Linked DNA regions of Homo sapiens: all the other regions are linked to region 2. The links are contacts of gene promoters, found by promoter capture Hi-C in human tissues and cell types (Jung and others, 2019). All regions are on one chromosome and are shown on one strand. The core of a region is centred on a gene start or on the middle of the fragment in contact, and the rest is flanking DNA. Distances in the headings are between cores, read along the strand shown. Region 1 overlaps MRAP2 (melanocortin 2 receptor accessory protein 2). Region 2 holds the start of MRAP2 (melanocortin 2 receptor accessory protein 2). Region 3 has its middle 38 kb from the start of LINC02857.

Region 1 (3,621 bases), core at 599-3,098, 58 kb before region 2:
CACATACTACCCTCAGGGAGCAGCCTGCCCTTTTCCTTGTGCAGTGCTGACTTCCTTGTGTACAAGCTAAAATAAAGCTTTCTCTTTCTCTTTGCTGTTATGTCTGGTGATCTGTATTTCCATCCTGGAAGATTACAAGAACCCAGGGTGCTGATTACATCTCATGGCACTCCAGATAGAACCCTCATTTTAGGGTCCTGTGGGAGCAAATGGCACAGCCCAGACGACAGAGATGGCTGACCAGGCACAAACCAAGGCAGCTGCACCATTGTTTCACCCTGGTGCCTCGGTGAGTCAAGTTCCTACATAGGATAAGTCCCCATTCCCTTTTTCTTTCTCTCTCTCTATTTTTCTTGCCCTATTCTCTCTCTTTCTCTTTGCTCCTATGTTTGGTGATCTCTCTTGATGTCTATACTGGAAGATTACAAGAACCCAGGGCACTGATAACAACTTCAACTGAAATGGACAGAGTGAGGGCAAGATAAATGAAGGCTATCAGACTCCCAAAATTCTACATGCAGAAAAAAAGGCTGATAAAACTACTCAGCTAAAAACACATTGTACCTTTCAAGAAAAAGAAAAGATGATTCCAAGAGTGGAGCTTCAGGCCCAGAGAATGTAGCCAGAAGTCACAAAAGACTATTTCCAGGCCTTGCAGCTTAACAGTTTTCCCAGTTTGAAGGATTTGTTATTTTGGGGACTGATGATTCATTTTTTCCTTCCATTTTCTCCTTTTTGGAATGGGAATACGGTTGATCCTTGAACAACATAGGGTTGAACTGCACGTGTCCACTTGTATGCAGATTTTTTTTCAACCAAATGGGGATTGAAAATACAGTATTCTTGGGATGCGAAACCCACCTATACGGAGAGCTAATTTTCATATACACGGGTTCTGCAGGACCTACTGTGGAACTTAAGTATGCTAGGATTTTGGTGTATACAGGGGGCCTGGAACCAATCCCCTGCATATACTGAAAGACAACTATTAGTAACTAGTATCTTATGTCGGTCACATCATTGTATTTTGGGAGAAAATAACTTATTTTCTAGTTTTACAGGTCCACAGATGGAGAGTTTTTCCCCAGGATGAATCATACCCAGGATCTCACTAATACTGAAATTAGATGGTTAAGATAATAAGATTTGGGACTTTTAAGCTGATAAGATTTAGGTAATACATGTGACTTTGAATTGATTCTATAATGAATTGAGACTGTGGAGTATATTGGGATGGGGTGTATGTATTGTGCATATAGAATGGATATAAACCTTTGGGGCCAAAGGGAAGACTAGCAGGCTAATGGTTCCCCAAGCATGTCCACATCCTAATCCCTGAAACCTGTCAATATGTAGCCTTATGTGGCAAAAGGCACACACTTTACAGATGTGATTAAATGAAGGATCTCAAGATGGGGAGATCATCTTAGGTAACCCAATGTAATCACAAAGGTCCTTATAAGAGAGAAGCAGGATGGTTAAAGACAGAGATGTAAAGTGGAAGAAGAGGAGCCACAGAGTGGGAGCAACCCCTGGAAGATAGAAAAGGCAAGAAAACTGATTAATCCTGAGAGCCTCCAGATGGAATGCTGCTGTGCTAACACCTTGATTTTAGCCCACTGAAACTGATTTTAGACTTGTCTACTCTAGAACTGGAAGAGAATAAATTTGTGTTGCTCTAAGTCACTAAATTTGTGGTAATTCGTTACAACAGCAGTAGGAAACAAACTCAGGAACCAACATGAGCATGAAGCATATGTGGCCTGCTGTGCTGTAATGAAGATTTTTGTCTCTGACCCAAGACTCTTGTGTCTTCTGGCAGCATCCATGAGACTATGGCAAGCTGATTTGCAGAAGGGGCAAAATCTTGGACCATTCACAGTTCTTAACATTTAGTTCATAAAAATGATGATATAGTCATGGGTATTTGTCTGACGTTTAAGTATCTTTCAATCTTCTGATCAATAAATCTACTTCTAAATAAGATACCACTTAAGTAGCTGTGAACTTTAATAATAGCCCATGATTTATATTTCATTAAATAAATTATGAATAATCATACTCATATTAGAAGTTAAACTCTGGCCAGGCATGGTGGCTCATACCTGCAATCCCAGCACTTTGGGAGGCCAAGGCAGGCAGATAACTTGAGGTCAGGAGTTCGAGACCAGCCTGGCCAACATATAGTGAAATCTCGTCTCTACTAAAAAATACAAAAATTAGCTAGGCGTGGTGGCACGTGCCTGTAGTCCCAGCAACTTGGGAAGCTGAGGCAGGAGAATCACTTGAACCCAGGAGGGGAGGCTGCAGTGAGCCATCCAGCCTGGGCGACAGAGCAAGACTCCGTCTCTCAAAAAAAAAAAAAAAAAAAAAAAGTTAACAAACTCAGCATTCTTTAATACTCTTGCTCTCTTGCATAAAAAATTCATGAAAATAGCATCTATTTATAAAAAATATGTTAAAGTAGCTTTAATTACAAAAAAATTCCATGCTTTGTTTTACTATTTAGAGTCTTAAAGAATGATATTTTCTTTAAAATACACAATAGAAAAGGGATTTCTTTTAGCGAAATAATCCCTAAATCTCATGCATGGCTCAGATCACCAGAATCCCAGAGATGGTACAGTCAGCACTGCCTACTCCAAGAAGTTAGGAGACATTATAAACATGGTACAACTTTTTGGGAAACAAAAAATTGGATGTGTGAAAATAAAGAACCAGAGGAAATTTCTGTGCAGTCAAATGCATTTATTTTGTAGCTTAAGCAAGACAGGTGGTGAACAAATTCATAATGAAAATGCCACCCAGAGGTTAACAGCTTGCCATGCATGCAACTGTGTGCGCAAAATCAAGTTGTTTTAATACCAGTGTGCAGCTTTGATTCCTCCATGAAATTAAAGCTGTGTTGCTCACTTGTTTACATAACTCAGGCCACCCTGAATATCTGCTAGTGGGGAATTTACAACCCACTGACCATCTCAGCTCAAAGCCAGATGACTATCACCTACACATCTGCCAAGGTAATAGCATGGCAAATAGTATTTTTCTTGTTCTGTAGCCAATGGCACAGATACACCAACACAGAGATACCCAGAAGGCACCTCCTCTCATTCAGCTGACAAGCTTCCTAACATTTCTTGGGGACAAGAGTACCATACATGTACTACGAATTGGTACTTATTCTGAGGCAGGGGATGGCTGTCTCCAGGTTAGAGCATGGGTGGTTGGAAGTTCTCAGAAGAGCTGTTTCAGCACAACCCACCAGAAACATTGGCCACCATGACTGTGTAAGATGAGTCTCCTGACATTCTGGTAGACAACCAGATCCCCTGACTAAAGCTTGGCTCAATTAGGGTTAAGTGGAAGGTACAGAGATTTGAGAGAGCCTACAAGAGATACGAGGCAGTACCCTAGTTTATACTGTTTTATGTATAGCTCAGCCTCATCTGAAGGCAAAGTCATAAATTCACAAAATATTAGAGGTGGGATGGATCACTCTAGACCTGTCAACCTACAGTTAAAAATGGGGCAGCCCAGAGAGGTAAAGCAACTCACCAAAGGTAGAGCATAGTAGTGGCAGGGCCAGATTAGAACATGGTAGGCTAATCCTCACCCAAGAAT
Region 2 (3,344 bases), core at 842-3,341:
TAAATAATTCAGAGATGAATTCTGATTGGCAAAATACCTCAGCATCTGGGGGCCAACAGAAATGGGGAGGAGGAAGCGAACAGCTTTCCAGAATATGTTGATGACATAATCTGCAAGGTAAAAGAAGATGACCCCCACTGTGACCAGAATGGGGCTAGCTCAGAAGGCTGAAAGGGGGCAGCTAGCGATGGGTATGAACACTCACGCAGAGGCAGCAGGATCAGCAACACAGAACAGGACACATGCATCACCAGCGCGCGCTTCACAAAACAGTACTTTCCCTTGCTCCTGCAATGCACTCTGATATCTTATCTTTCTTTCTCTTGGCTTTCATGTTTTAAAAACTGCTATTTGCAACTCACTAAACTGATCATTAGCCTAATGAGTCACAGCCCACATTTGAAGACAATGGATACAGCATACCCTGATCTATATCCCAGTAGATTGCTAGAAAAGGGAAGGGAGTTGGTTTGGCGTAAGTATTTGTAAATGCTTCCCTAGGTAGTTTTGAGCTATCTTAAAGAATTTGTTCTAGAATGTTGCCAGGATTCAATGTTTCCCTCTTTTAAAAAGTCTCCTGGGTCCATTCTCATCTCTCATACCTGCACAAAGATGACTGTAACCGCTTTCACTACTCTAGGACGTCTGCCATTTGGGTTTTGAACAATCCAGTCCAGTTTCGGGCTTCGAGACCCTCTTTAAAGGGTTTAGGCTGGCCTCACTTTGAAAAGAAAGATACAGACTGGAAGCAACTCTTCCTTTTCCTATCACCTGTTAATATTATCTATTCTTCCATAAACACTGGATGATCTTCCTCATAAGAACGAAACTCCTTGTGGGTACCCCAGCTCACAGTGGCCTCTGGCTTTCCTGACCTTATCCTTGCAGGCCCTCGTCACTCTCCTGCACCTGTTCTTGTCTGTGTACCCCATGCAATGTACCTAAAGGAAACTAGACTCACAGTCCTAGCTTCCAGACCCCTACTCCCCACTATTACTTAACTGGGGCAGTCACCTTGGAAAACGTATTTAATATCGCAATCTAATTTTCTCTACCTGCAAACTGAAAATACTACTGTTTACTTTTGGGGTTTTCGTAAGAATTAATTTATGCATAAGAGTTCCCTTCTCTCGTCTCCCTGGACACATTCCCTCAAGCTTCCTTTGCCTTCAAAACACCAGAGTGTTTCACTGTTGTCAAACTAAATGCAGAGTAGTGGCTGAGATTCTGTGCCATCTAACATGCTGTGGAAACCACAACGCCTCCAAACAGGTTTCTGCAGAGACTACTCTTTGCCTTCCTCAATTAATTACACAGAAAGGATGGGAAAGGCACGGGGCACGGGGCGCGGGGCGGGCGGGGGGAGCGGGGGCGGGTTGCGGGGTGGGGCGGCGGGGAAAGTGTAAAACCCCTATTTCCCTCTAATCAGTAACACGACCTGCGAGCAGGCTCCCCAGTCCAAACAAAATGAATGAGCAACTGTCAAGCCAGGCATCATCTGAGAACCCTGCCCAGTGCATGGAGGCGCGCCCGGGGCCAGGAGCCAGCACATTTCCCCAGCCCAGGGGGGCTCTCTCAGTTGCAGGGCACCAAGGCGGCAGGAGGGCCGCAGCAAGGAAAGTTTTCTCACCAGCGGGAAAGGGTGTGCCTCGGCCGCTGGGGCCCAGCGGAGGGGAGGAAGCCCACCCAAGCCCCGAGCGCCGCCGCTTCCAGGCTTTTCGGACGCCCAGCGGCGTCCACACGCACATCAGCGGGCTGCCGGGAAGGTTTTAAACTTGGTGCTCTCCACGGGGTCCACACTCTTCCCGTGGGCGTCCTCACACCCCAATTCTCCTCCTCCCACCCCATTCTCTAGCCCCTCTAAACTAAAGACTGCCCCCAAACCCAAGCAAGCCCTGCCTTGACCAAAGCTGCACGCGCCCCGCACCCAGCGCCCGGGCTTTGCTCCGCCCTGGGCGCCCTGTCCCGCCCGTGGTTACCGGCTGGCTAGCCCCGGCCCGCGGGCTCGGCCCTGGTTCCGGCTCCTGGCTCCTCCGAGGTGCGCGAGCGCCGCCGCCGCCGCCGCCTCCCACCGCCCAGGGCCGGGCGAGTAGCTCCTAGATCCGAGGTGCGGCGGAGACGCGCGCTCCCGACCCGCAGCGGAGGCGGCGCGGGGCGCCGGAGCAGGGCTGCAGCGCGGGAGCCGCCTCCCCAGCGCGAGAGCCGCCTCCCCAGCGCGAGGCCGCCTTGGCCAAGAGGAGGTGAGCTTTGCAGATCCCTTTCCTGCTCACTTTGCCCCTCCGAGTCCGGGTCAGAGCCTGAGTCAGAGAATTCTTTGCCATCCCGGGCTCTGCAGTGGGTCCCTCGGGTCAACTTTGGGTAACAGGAGGAGCTCATTAGCTGAGCAAGAGGGAGTGGGGTATCATGAATCAAGGCTTATGAAAAATCGGCAGCATTGAGTTCAAGTTCAGTAAGGCCAGAGCCCCCCCATAATGTGCTGCTTAAATTACTACCTCGATTTTAGTTTCTCTTCCTGCCCACTGGTCCAGGTGTCAAAGGGCAGTCAGACGTTCAAACGGGGTCCCAAAGGGCTAGCACTGGGCCGGGAGTAGTTTCAGCATAGCAGGGCTGGCTCATCTCTTCCTCCCTTGAGTCCTTATTGCATGCCAGGCATTGATCTGGGAATACAGGTGCTTGGTGCTTGCATTCTACTAAAGAGACAGGCATAAACATAACAAATAACTAAAATACATAGTATGTGAGATAGTGATGAAGTGCGGTGGACAAAAAAGAAGGGAGGAAATGGGATAATGTTTGGAGGTAGGGGGTGCATTTTTAAATGGGATGGTCAAAGATGGCTTCACAGTGGAGTAAAGATCTAAAGGAGATGAGACAGAAAGAAGTCACGCTGGTATCTGGAGAGAAAGCACTTGCTGTGTGGCAGGCACTGAGATGTTCTTTACTGCACTAGTCATTTCTTTTACTACTCTCCATATGCCATATTAGACAGGTATTGCCACCATTTCCATTTTACTGATGAGAAACTGTAACTTAGGAAGGTTAAAGGAACTGCCCAAGGTCATATGCTAGTCAATAGAGGAGCTTGCCTTCAAGGTCAGGAAGCCTGGTGCCCCAGAACCATAGTTTAACCACCATTATACAGCAGCAGGGGAAATGCAGCACCCATGCAGGCTGGTGGCAGTGTGATGAACTCAAGCTGGTGGTGCCAAAAGAGGATTCCTGGAAATGACATCTCATCACTGATTTTTTTTTAAAAGCTCAGTTTCATTACCACTTGTAAAATGAAATATTTTGAACACCATTTTTCTTCTTCTTCTTTTTTTTAATTTTAAGTTCTGGGATAC
Region 3 (3,401 bases), core at 217-2,716, 51 kb after region 2:
CTTGTGCATGAGTTCAGTCAAAAACAATGGCCTCCCATAATTTTGTTAAAAAACTCCCCTTTTTGGTCAGGTTCTCACTTAGGTGAGAGTGTGACCAAAACTTAGGGCTTTTGTGTCACTCTTAGTTACTACCATTTTGGGTTTCTGGTCTCAGCATGTCATTTATAGGTTACAGTGCCCTCAGGGTCACACATTTCTTTCAGCTCTTGTCATTCCAGTTGGAGAGACCATTTGACTTTCTAGAGATGGCTGCATGCAAAAATTTAAATCTTTTAAGAGAATACAGTATATCAGGGAGACTACTATCATGAATATCGGAGCATAACACGAAGAGTTACCCAAGATCCCCATATCCAAACCACCTAAAATTAAATAGATCAAAGAATAAGCTAGATAAAGGGTCTGCCTACTTAACTAAGCAGTCTCTTCATTAATCCCCTACAGCTGAATCTCTGTAATACCTGATGTGATGTATTTCTCCACAGGCCACAAGTGCCAGCAGCTGCACAGACACTTCTCTGTTTAGCCAGTAAGTAATCTACAGCAATTCCATTATTTAGCATAACTTTCACAAGAGAATTTAAAGTCTGTTTTGCAACCATAGCCTTTACAATAGAATCTGCTATAGAGCTTATTATGAGGGATAAATTTCTAGTCACTGTCTCTTTTACCCCAAACCATGGTGGAAAAGGACCTAATAAATAATGCCCTTCTAGAAGAGTGAAGGCCTCCTGGCATTGTTCTCTTTAACCCATGATGTGGGTTAAGAAGAATGAACAAATGTGTTATTTCTGACTATGAGGCCACATATGTACCTTTAAAATTTCTTACCTTCATTGCGCCTCATCTTCCATCTATCAAGGTATAAGCTTATCCATGTATAAGGCTGGCTTCAAAATCCTTCACAAATCAAAGTATACACAATTAGTACACACAACAGACCCCCTTTTCACTTCTATTGTTCATAGAGGCATAAGCAAGGGAAAAATATTCAAAGTAAGAGTCTCATGATAGTAGAGAAGTCTTGATGCATGATCTTGGGAAAAAGCTGTTCATATCAAGGATGCAATCTTCTTCTGGGTAGAAACTTCCTTGGTTAGCTTTACCTTAAGGGTTCTAATGGGTATAGTTCCAAGGGTGTAGATGAAGCCGTCTCAGTTGTGAAATTATTAGCCCAAGGTTCAAGGTCCTGAAGTTTTGCTGCAGTGTGGATGACAAGGGCAGTCTTTCTCTGAGGTTCTCAGAAGATCCGATCTTCAGGTTCTAAATTATGAAGTGGTTGATGGTCCTCAATAAGTGAACCATGAAATGCTTTCTTTACCTGGTGAAAATACATGGTGGTATAATAATCTACTGTTATAATGCCAGCCCTCTTGCATGGGAAAGCTTTTATACAACCAGAAAACATGCATTGAAAATGACAACTGAATGAAATCCCTCTATAAATGTCTGAATGGCCCATAAAGTTGCCAAACGTACCTAAAGCTTTGTCTTCCAAGGAATATGGGTTTCACAAACCAAACATTGGTCATAAACTATTTTAGCAATTTAGAAATCACCACACCAATATATATTTAATTTGGATCATTTTATGTTTTCCATGATGAGTCACAGAATGCAAAACCTTTAATAACAAAAGTTTTGAGAACTCAGAAAGGACAAGGCAGCCCTCCTGGTTCTCCGTGAGCCCATGCTTAATGTTGGACTTATGTTCTCTTGAATACCAGTTGTTTATCCAATTTAGGTGCGTAGCACTGACAACTAATGGGTTGTCATAGGTAATTTGACTTAGACCATGGAGTTCATTTAAATTGTGTATCTAAACAATTTCAGTATTGGTTGATTTAGCATGAAAATCTGGCAAAGTATTTTCTTGGTATTCAATTAATTTTGTTCTACCTGGGTTAGTGGTTTTATAAACCAGTCAGCCTTTTCATTAAAGTTATAGGAATTCTTACCTGTATTCAAGAGTGCTTTTCAGGGTCCGTTCCATCCTTTCATAAACCTCCTAAAATATATCATATTCTAGGATTTTCAGTGCTTGTGAAGTTTTCAAAAACTGCATCAGAATTAAGCAATTAACTGTAGAAATGACTTTAAACAGTCATAAAAACACAATTGACATGGAAATTTGGTTATTTCTGTGATCTACAATAACTAACATAATACCTGATATGGTTTGGCTCTGTGTCCCCACCCTAATCTCATCTTGAATTGTACTCCAATAATTCCCATGTGTTGTGGGAGGGTCTCAGTGGGAGATAATTGAATCATGGGGGTGGTTTCCCCCATACTATTGTCATGGTAGTGAATACGTCTCACAAGATCTGATGGTTTTATCTGGGGTTTCCACTTTTGCATTTTCCTCATTCTCTGTTTGCCTGCTGCCATCCATGTAAGAAGGACTTGCTCCTTCTTGCCTTCCACCATGATTGTGAGGCTTCCCCAGCCATGTGGAGCTGTAAGTCCAATGAAACCTCTTTCTTTTGTAAATTGCCCAGTCTCAGGTATGTCTTTATCAGCAGCATGAAAATGGACTAATACAGTAACCATAATTATGATTGATAGTATATATTTAGTCATATTAGAATTTTAGAAATCCCATACAATTTTGGAACATATATTAACATTCGCTAAAATATAACCTGAAGAAAAGTAAACATTATTTTTTATTTTGACAATACTTCCCATGTAACTTAACATGTCAAATAATCCTGTTTACCTATCTTTTGGATGCTTCAGGGGCCCTCTGTAGTATCCCAAAGTTAGAGGTTGGAAAAGACAATTTTGAAGCTGAAATTTGATTTTGGGAGGCCTGTCAAATATGTTAAAGATTTCAAACATTTGATATTATAAAATAGAATTCCAGGTCACCATAAGTTATTTATTTTGCCAAAATAATAACTCAAAAACTTCAAAAAGGCAAAAACTTTTACTTATTGATAGAGGGAACATTTAGCTTTCCAATCCGTCTCTTGTCTTTCCCTTCTTTTTCCTGTAGTTTATTTAAAAGGCAAGCAAAAATATTTCGTTATCCTTTAACATTAGATGAAAATCTTGTTCAAGAGAGAAAGCCAAATTTCACCCTTGCATTAGTGTACTCTTAATGTCAACCCCAATCTTTAATAAAACTTTACAGACAAATCTCTCGAACCTTAATCAGTTTTTCTTACAATAGCTGCAAAGAAAATTAAATACCTAGGAACTAATTTAACCAAAGAAGTGAAATATTTCCATAATAAAAATTATAAAACACTGGTGAAAGAAATTGAGGAGGTGACACAAAAAAATGGAGAGATATTCCTTGTTCATAGATTGGAAGAACCAATTATATTTAAATGTCCATACTACCCAAACCAATCTAGAGATTCAATGCAATCCTTATCAAAATACCAATGACA

Evidence for each region. The method cuts DNA at HindIII sites, captures the fragments that hold promoters and counts their contacts. A contact is called where the count stands out against the background at its distance.
Region 1: a fragment that was not itself captured here is called in contact with the fragment with the promoter of MRAP2 in region 2 in 4 of the 25 tissues and cell types used here (aorta, hippocampus, neural progenitor cells and 1 more).
Region 3: a fragment that was not itself captured here is called in contact with the fragment with the promoter of MRAP2 in region 2 in 1 of the 25 tissues and cell types used here (liver).

The regions. Positions count from the first base shown.
Region 1 is chr6:84,089,994-84,093,614 of GRCh38, reverse strand. MRAP2 (melanocortin 2 receptor accessory protein 2) reads right to left here. Exons shown (of 4, transcript NM_138409.4): 4 at 2,734-3,621. Among named protein-coding and RNA genes, the nearest start is that of MRAP2, 58 kb to the right of the region's middle. The HindIII fragment of the contact is 4,552 bases long and covers 1-3,621 here.
Region 2 is chr6:84,032,519-84,035,862 of GRCh38, reverse strand. MRAP2 (melanocortin 2 receptor accessory protein 2) reads right to left here and starts at 2,091. Exons shown (of 4, transcript NM_138409.4): 1 at 1,980-2,091. The HindIII fragment of the contact is 8,786 bases long and covers 188-3,344 here.
Region 3 is chr6:83,981,187-83,984,587 of GRCh38, reverse strand. No RefSeq gene overlaps it. Among named protein-coding and RNA genes, the nearest start is that of LINC02857, 38 kb to the left of the region's middle. The HindIII fragment of the contact is 3,785 bases long and covers 1-3,358 here.